Regions from separate parts of the Homo sapiens genome. Here regions 2 and 3 are each linked to region 1. Evidence: promoter capture Hi-C in human tissues and cell types (Jung and others, 2019). All regions are on one chromosome and are shown on one strand. The core of a region is centred on a gene start or on the middle of the fragment in contact, and the rest is flanking DNA. Distances in the headings are between cores, read along the strand shown. Region 1 holds the start of FAM227B (family with sequence similarity 227 member B). Region 2 holds the start of SHC4 (SHC adaptor protein 4). Region 3 overlaps SLC27A2 (solute carrier family 27 member 2).

What was found. The method cuts DNA at HindIII sites, captures the fragments that hold promoters and counts their contacts. A contact is called where the count stands out against the background at its distance.
Region 2: the fragment with the promoter of SHC4 here is called in contact with the fragment with the promoter of FAM227B in region 1 in 1 of the 25 tissues and cell types used here (adrenal gland).
Region 3: a fragment that was not itself captured here is called in contact with the fragment with the promoter of FAM227B in region 1 in 1 of the 25 tissues and cell types used here (dorsolateral prefrontal cortex).

The regions. Positions count from the first base shown.
Region 1 is chr15:49,619,564-49,622,073 of GRCh38, forward strand. FAM227B (family with sequence similarity 227 member B) reads right to left here and starts at 1,255. Exons shown (of 16, transcript NM_152647.3): 1 at 1,137-1,255. DTWD1 (DTW motif tRNA-uridine aminocarboxypropyltransferase 1) reads left to right here and starts at 1,485. Exons shown (of 5, transcript NM_001144955.2): 1 at 1,485-1,559. RefSeq lists an enhancer at 1,597-1,716. The HindIII fragment of the contact is 10,713 bases long and covers 1-2,510 here.
Region 2 is chr15:48,962,662-48,965,171 of GRCh38, forward strand. It overlaps SHC4 (SHC adaptor protein 4), which reads right to left and starts at 1,258. Exons shown (of 12, transcript NM_203349.4): 1 at 1-1,258. The coding sequence starts at 354. RefSeq lists enhancers at 1-234, 235-736. The HindIII fragment of the contact is 15,905 bases long and covers 1-2,510 here.
Region 3 is chr15:50,191,797-50,194,306 of GRCh38, forward strand. All of the region lies in intron 1 of SLC27A2 (solute carrier family 27 member 2), which reads left to right. Among named protein-coding and RNA genes, the nearest start is that of SLC27A2, 11 kb to the left of the region's middle. The HindIII fragment of the contact is 7,424 bases long and covers 1-2,510 here.

The sequences.
Region 1 (2,510 bases), core at 5-2,504:
GATGACTATGCCCTATTGACAACACCACCTGTGAACATAATAAAATGGTTGTTTTAAGCCACCATATTTTGGAGTAATTTATTACATACGATAGCAACCCAATGCTCAATCTAACAAGTAGTATTATTTGCTTTTTAATCTGTGCAATTTAACTACTTTGATAAAATTTAGAGTTAAACTAAAAAGGAAAATGGTTGTGAATTCTTCTTGGCTTATAGACTTTGCTATTCTACTTTCCCTACCCAGAAAATTCACCTTTCTCCCTAAATCACTGGCTTTCAAACTTTTTAAGGTTTGAAATACAGTAAGAAATACATTTTACAAACAAGCCCTAGTGCACACATACACGCATATATACAATTAAAAGCTCCATAAAGCAGTACTTTACTAACTAACACTAAATTTACTTACATGCGCTGATATTTCCAATCTATATTGTTTCTTTTTTTTAAGTTTAAAGAGATTTCCTTGCTTACAAATGGGTCAAGACCTCCACTAATGGGTCCCACACAATCCCCTTTCCAGTTGAAAAACACTGTCCTAAACCTAAATCATTCTTCAAGGCCTTACCCAAGTCCGAAAAAGAAGCCTTTATTGACCACTCCATTCTCAGCTTTCTTGAAATTCCTGTAATTTATTAAATTCCATTTTTTATCTCAGTAGTAAGAATATTGCATTTTCTGTACTTGAATTTAACATGCTTTACTTGATATCGTGAGCACTTCTAGGGCATTGTAATGTCCTTTATCTACCACTTGATAAATTCAGAGTAGTCAATAAAACATTGCTCAACATTTGACCATTGTGTTTTAAAATCTTAGTTGTTAGAGTGCACTTCCGTTTGCGCATTGTTTGGGGAGAGGCACGGACAAATGTTCTAATAACTTATCCACATATTATACTTCAAAGTGGAAAAACACAAAGTACTCTTAACTCTATATGCGTGTTTTTATGCAAACTAAATCATTAAGATACAAATGATTTTTCTAATAGCTTTCATTACCACACAGCACACGAAATAATGATATTGATATAGCCACGAAAGACTAATGTAACCAAGTTCTCACAATCAAAATATCTTTGAGGTGGGCAAAATGCAAACTTTTCTCTGGGATCAACATTTCTTCACAACTCACTGCAACTACGCCTTGACAGTATGTTTCGAGAACCGCTTCCCAATTTTGTTGTCCCAGCAAGAATCGGGAGGAAACTGGGTGAAAGGCTGCGAGGCTTGAGGCGGGTCCCGGACGAACGCGGCCCTGCCCCTCGCCGGAGCCTCTCGGGAGAAGTGCGACACCGCCGCTGATTGAGAGGCTGAGGCGGAACTTCCCGTCTAACCCCCCCCCCGCTGTCGTCCCAGCCTGTTGCTTAAGCCGCGCGGTGTGCGGTGTGCGCGGCCCCTGCCTTAGCAACGACGCTAGTAACTGCCTGGCTCCTCCCTCTGGTGTCTCCCGGAAAGCGCTCCGTCTGGTCCGTGCGCGATCACGGCCCGGCGCGTGGCTCGGGCTCGGGCGGAGCTGGAGACGTGTGGAGCTGTTCGAGGACTCGCGGGTGTGCAGGTCTGAGTACCACTCCGATCCCTGGTGGAGGTCCCCGCGCCTCTCTGGAGACCAGTGGTCTGGCCCCAGAGGTGCGGCCGCGGGAAGTGGACATTCTTTGTCAGGACCCTAGCGGAGGTCGCGCTGGGTGTCGCCTGTGAGGGGGATCCTCGGTTTCTGCGCGGTCTCTTGCTTTTTTTAGGATCTTGCGGGCCCTTTGGGAAAAAGGTTTCCAAATTTTTCCTCAAAAAAAAAATTATTTTTCCTACCAATGATTTTCGGTGCATTCCGCCCCAACGAAAAGTATGTCCTGGCAAAGTCAGTTCCCTAGGAACCCCATACTTTATTTTATTTTATTTTTAGTATTTGGAGTGGTTTGTGGGGGTTTGGTTATCACGGAAGGGGAAGCGTAGTACAGACGTAGAATTAGTGATGCCATGCAGTGTATTTAAAATATTGAGGTTGTGGTTACATAATAAGCAAAAGAGCCTGTTTCTTACGTCTAAATTATTTATTGGGAATGTAGGACAAATAAGGAAGTATATTAACATTTTCAGTCGCCAGGCCCACAAAGTTGGATGGTAAAATCAATACTGTAGATCGCAGCATGTAAGGACTAACCCAGTGCACCATGAAAACGAAGGCAAGACAGTTTGTTACCATATGGCGGGTGGTGTGGGAGAGGCCATTGATCCTATATGAAAAAGGGTACTACTACCTTGGATTATGAAAAATGAATGTTGGACCTGTAGGTCCTATGTGACCAAGTTCTTAAAAACACTCTAAAGAAAATTGGAAGTGGTTTTTTTCTAATACTGAATTGGTCCACAATATAGGACAGGGGAGTCTGTATAGTGTTCCATTGGGAGGTGAGTCAGCTTACAATAATGGAAGAGGTAGAAGCTTTTTGTTATTATTTTGGAGAAAAAAAAATTGCCAGCCTGCCACTTGTGCTAGGCTGCAGACGGCCCA
Region 2 (2,510 bases), core at 8-2,507, 660 kb before region 1:
CTTCAGCCGAGGCACCTCTTTGGTACCCAGGCAAAAGTTTTTCAGACTCAGCAAAGTGGCCGGGTTGGCCAGCTTCATGCTTGCCATGCGGGGGATCAAGGTGCACAGTGGGGTGGGGCTCTCCTGCGACGGCAAGGTGGCATCTTCAGTCGGCAGGTGAGGTGCCAGGGCGGGGTGGGGAGGCTGCGGCGAGCCCTTGTTCCCGACCGAGCCTCCGGAGCTACCTTCGTCCAAGGACGTGATCGACTCGTTCCGAAAGCGGCTGTACTTGGCCCTGTGCAGCATCCCGGGGTGCCCGAAGAGTCCTACATACAGCACGAGTCCTGCCAGGCTGTCCTGGCCGCGTTCTCGCATAGCCTTGGCAGTGCTGAAACAGGATACTGTTGCATAAATCGCCTCGTCGTCTGGTAGATAAACGGTGCAGACATCAGATACCTCAACGCCCGATGCAACTCACAGCAGCCACCTCTCCAACTCTGCTCTCGAGCTCGCCCACCTCGGCTCCCGGCCCCTTAAGGGTGACAGCCCATGGGGGAAACGCCTCCCCTGCTCTGATTTCAGTCTCTCCCTGGCCCAGGCAGAGGCACCAGTGTTCTCGCCTTGGAATCCTTGTCGGGAGAGCCTAGACCCAGGCTCCCGGCGGCGCGGGTCGCTCACGGCCAACTCTTAGGCGCAGAACCCGGGCGAGCGCCGGTCGGGGGGCCCGCTGCATCACTAGCCTTGCAGGAGCCTAGTAGAAATATTTAGCACCCGACTCCCACCCTCACCCCAGCCTTCTGTTCTGCACACAGGAACTTTCGAACCTGCTCCCTTCGGCTCTCACAGGGCGGGGCAAATGACTGGCCTATTAACCCTTTATTTGTTCCAGTGATTGTTCATTTAAAAAGGAAAAAAAAATGTATCTATGAACCAAAGGCCCTTTTGCCTGGGTTCGTTGATTCCAAAGGCTGCCCTCTCTTGGAAGATCTTGTCTTGCATCCCGTTCTGGGCCACCAGCCAGGAGTACTACTGACGGGCGCTGCTCCGCATTGTTTCACTGACTTGTGATGGGTCCGTGTTCCTCAGATCCCCTCCCAGCCTGCCTACCCTCGCTCAGAGCTTCCCTCCCTCCTGGATTCCTCTCGGAGCTTTTTTCAGAAGCCCATTTGCAGCCGAAAGCTGAGATGTGCAGGATGATACGCAGCGTGTTGAAATTTTTATGAATGAACTTTGCCGAATGAATTTCTCTGTGTGTGTGCAAGCTAATAAATCTGTGAATGAAGCTGAGAATAGCTGTAATTGACTGACGGTCTCAGAGGTGCTTGGTTTTTATCCAATCAGGAGGCAGCTTGATGACTCATACACCATAAATATACTAAACTAGTAGCCGAGAGAAATAAAGCTAGCGGGAGAGGAGGGACGTATTTTATTTTGTGGTATCTGATGAATGAGTTAAAAGGAAAGGCAATCTTTACTACAGATCATTAGCCGGGGAGCAGCAGGTTAAAAGATCTATTTTCTTTCTTGTTGAGATGGCCGGGAGGGCAGAGCAGAAGAGCTAAAAATTAGACCCATTGTTACAGGGATATTAGGACATATGGTTCACAACTCCTGTGGGAAGCCATGATGCATTTTTCTTAGAAACATAGTTCTTTTTTTATTGATTGTTGGTTCCATCTTCCGTCTGGTGCGACTTCCTGTACCTATCAAATGCATCCTGAAGACATGATGACAACTGCAAAGGCTTAGCACACAGGAAGCCAAAACCAGAGCTGGGAAAAGGAAATGCAGGTTCTTCAGGAATGGAGAAGAGGAAACTGCTGAAACACTGGGGGTGTGGGGTGTCGGGGTGGGGTGGAAATCACACATAGGAAGAGATAAAGAACTCTCAGAAAAGATTGCATTACTCCGTGTCTCAAGGCTTTGACATCTGAAATTGTTCATTAATTAAAAAATTAAGACAAACTGGCAACCAAAGGAATTAAGGGTGCCACCTTCATTATCTTATTGTCCCTAATGCTGGATTAGGCTTATGTATATTCATGACTTTGGGAGCCTGAGCTCCCTTGGGATCCAAACACAGGTTCTGAATTAAATGGTTGAGAGTGACCAGTGAAAGCGGCATCCTCCTCCCAAGCTCCCTGGTCCCCCAGGGAAATAAAGCACCCATCACATCCTGTCTGCCAAGCCTGTTCAGACATTTCTTTCCCTGGAAAGGCCTTTCTGCATCTTCATAAATCTTCCCTTCAATCCTTGTTGACCTCCTTTTCCCTGCCCTACATCTCCTCCTGGCAAAACTGAGGGAAGTAGCTAAATCAGTTGGACCCCACATCCCTGGGGCTGAGGAGACAGGCTCTGGGCAAGAATATTTACCTCTCATTCCTCCTCATTCCTCATCTGCTTTCTTCCTCTCATTTTTCCTGCCTTCCCCTGGGTCCCTGGGTCCCTGTGTTGCTTCTGTTATGCTATGATGACCTCATTATATGCTCCCTTTAGAAAGTTACTTTACCTCTCCGTGCCTGAATGTCCTC
Region 3 (2,510 bases), core at 8-2,507, 570 kb after region 1:
TGCCTGTAATCCCAACACTTTGGGAGGCCAAGGTGGGCGGATCACTTGAGGTTGGGAGTTCAAGACCAGCCTGGCCAAATTGGTGAAACCCCATCTCTACTAAAAATACAAACATTAGCCGGGCATGGTGACAGCCGCCTGTAATCCCAGCTACTCGGGAGGCTGAGGCAGGAGAGCCGCTTGAACCCAGGAGGCAGAGATTGCAGTGAGTTGAGATCACGCCATTGCACTCCAGCCTGGATGACAGAGTGAGACTCCATCTCAAAAAAAAAAAAAAGAAAAAAGAAAATATGTAGGCCCAAACATATCTACAAAAGACTCAAGAAAATAAAAGACATTAAATATCAACTAGATAGTTGACAGGTAGATTCACATCCAGAATTTCCTTTCAAATTTCTTTTTTCTTTCTACATCTTTAAGGGAAGAAAGGCTTCCATAGTGTGTCCAGATATGGTTGGCAAGCCGCTGGAAACTCAAGTCTGCCCAAATAACAAATCTACACCAACAGCCTAGAGGAGATGGAAGGAGATGGTGTAGGGCAGGGGCAATGGCCCTCCCTTCAGATTAGATGACTTGCATAAAAGGTCAGGAATCACAAACTACATGCCTGCAGAGGGCCAGCTGGGAACATGAATGAAGTACACATGAGGTGAAGTTGCTTGGACTGTGATCAAGCATGACACCAGCTTAATTACATTTCCTTTTATTATTAATTTTTCATGCTAATACCTGAGTACATTTTTCTTTTTTTTTAAATTTTTTTTTTGAGACAGGGTCCCACTCTGTTGCCCAGGCTGGAGTGCAGTGGCATAATCATGGCTCACTGCAGCCTTGACCTCCCAGGCTCAGGTGATCCTCCCACCTCAGCCTCCAGAGTAGCTGGGACTACAGGTGTGCGCCACCACATCCGGCTAATATTTCTTTGTGTGTGTATTTTTTTGTAGAGGTGTTTTGCCATGTTGCCCAGGCTAGCTGTAAGTACATTTTTCTTAAAAAAAAAAAAAAGAAGAAGAAGTACAGAAAAACTTAAAGTCCCTTTTGACCTACCATTTTCCCCTCATTAAGATGATTACTTGGAGGTGAAAAATAAGAAAAAAAAAAGACTGTTGCTAAGTCCTATCTACTCTACCTACCAGATATCTCTTAAGTACATTCACTTCTCTCTACCCACACTGCTGCCTACACAGTGTAGACAAGCATCATCTAACAGCTGGTCTCCCTACCTCTTCTCCCAACCTTATTCCCCTCCAACTCTACATTCCAGTCAGCTTTAACCTCTTTTAGTTACTCAGGCCCCAGGCTGCGTTGGCTCTGGGCCTTTGCATAAGCCGTTCCACTGCCCAGACTCAGGCTTAGTCAGTCCCAGCTGATCTTCATCTCCACCGTCTGCTCATCTTTCAGGTCTCAGTTTACAGGGCACTTCTTCTAGGTCGTCTTTCTGCCCCCCACCACCTGCTCCCCAAATACCTTCTCCTTCCCCTGTTGTGACACCTGTGGCAATTTATTTTGATTTTTGTTTGTTTGTTTCTCCTCTATTAGACCTGGGCTCTATGAAAACAGGGAGAGCGTTTTGCTCACTGTCATATCCAGCATGTAGAGACCTGCCTGGCACACAGGGAACACTCTTTAAATAGATGTTGAATAAATGTTGGGAGGGAGGGAATGAGAATGGATCCAGGTAACTTATGAACGGATTGTTTGACTATGGACCCTGAGTCTCATGACAGGAGGAAAGAAAGGAGATTTCACAATTCTTTAGCAGTAGGAGTTGTTGTTTTAAAATTTGCCTCTGTGGGCCCTTACTTGTAAGCAAGGCATACTTGTATCTCAGAAATTATTTCATCTTACATTATGTTTCATTAAAGGTTTATCAACTGCCAGATCTGAATCCTTTAAGCAGCTTTACCTTATTCCTCTGTGTCTTCCACACTAATATCATATTTTGTGCAAAATTTTTTCAATTATAAACATTTATTGAGCACTTATCTAGTAGTTCTGGGGGTACAAAGATGATTTGATTATTATCTTAATTTCAAAGATCTCCCTGTCTAATAGAGGAGAAAATGAATTAAACCACATCCACCAGGCATGGTGGCTCACACCTGTAATCCCAGCATTTTGAAAGGCTGAGGTGGGAGGATCACTTGAGCTCACAAGTTTCAGATCAGCCTGGGCAACGTAGCGGGACATCATCTCTACAAAAAGTTAGCTGGGCATGGTACTCCTGTAGTCCCAGTTACTTGAGAGGCTGAAATGGGAAAATCACTTGAGCCCAGGAGGTTGACGCTGCAGTAAGCCATGATCACGCCACTGCACTCCAGCCTGGGAGACAGAGCAGGACCCTGTCTCTAAAGAAAAATTAAAAAATTGAACCCTATCATACTGTGTATAAGCGCCCTGATAATTGTAAATACGGGCTCCTATGGGAGCTGTAGAAGGGAGCAGCTAACTTTGCAGAGGGAGGGAAGATAACAGAAAAGAAGTGCTACCTACACTGAGTCTTGAAGGAT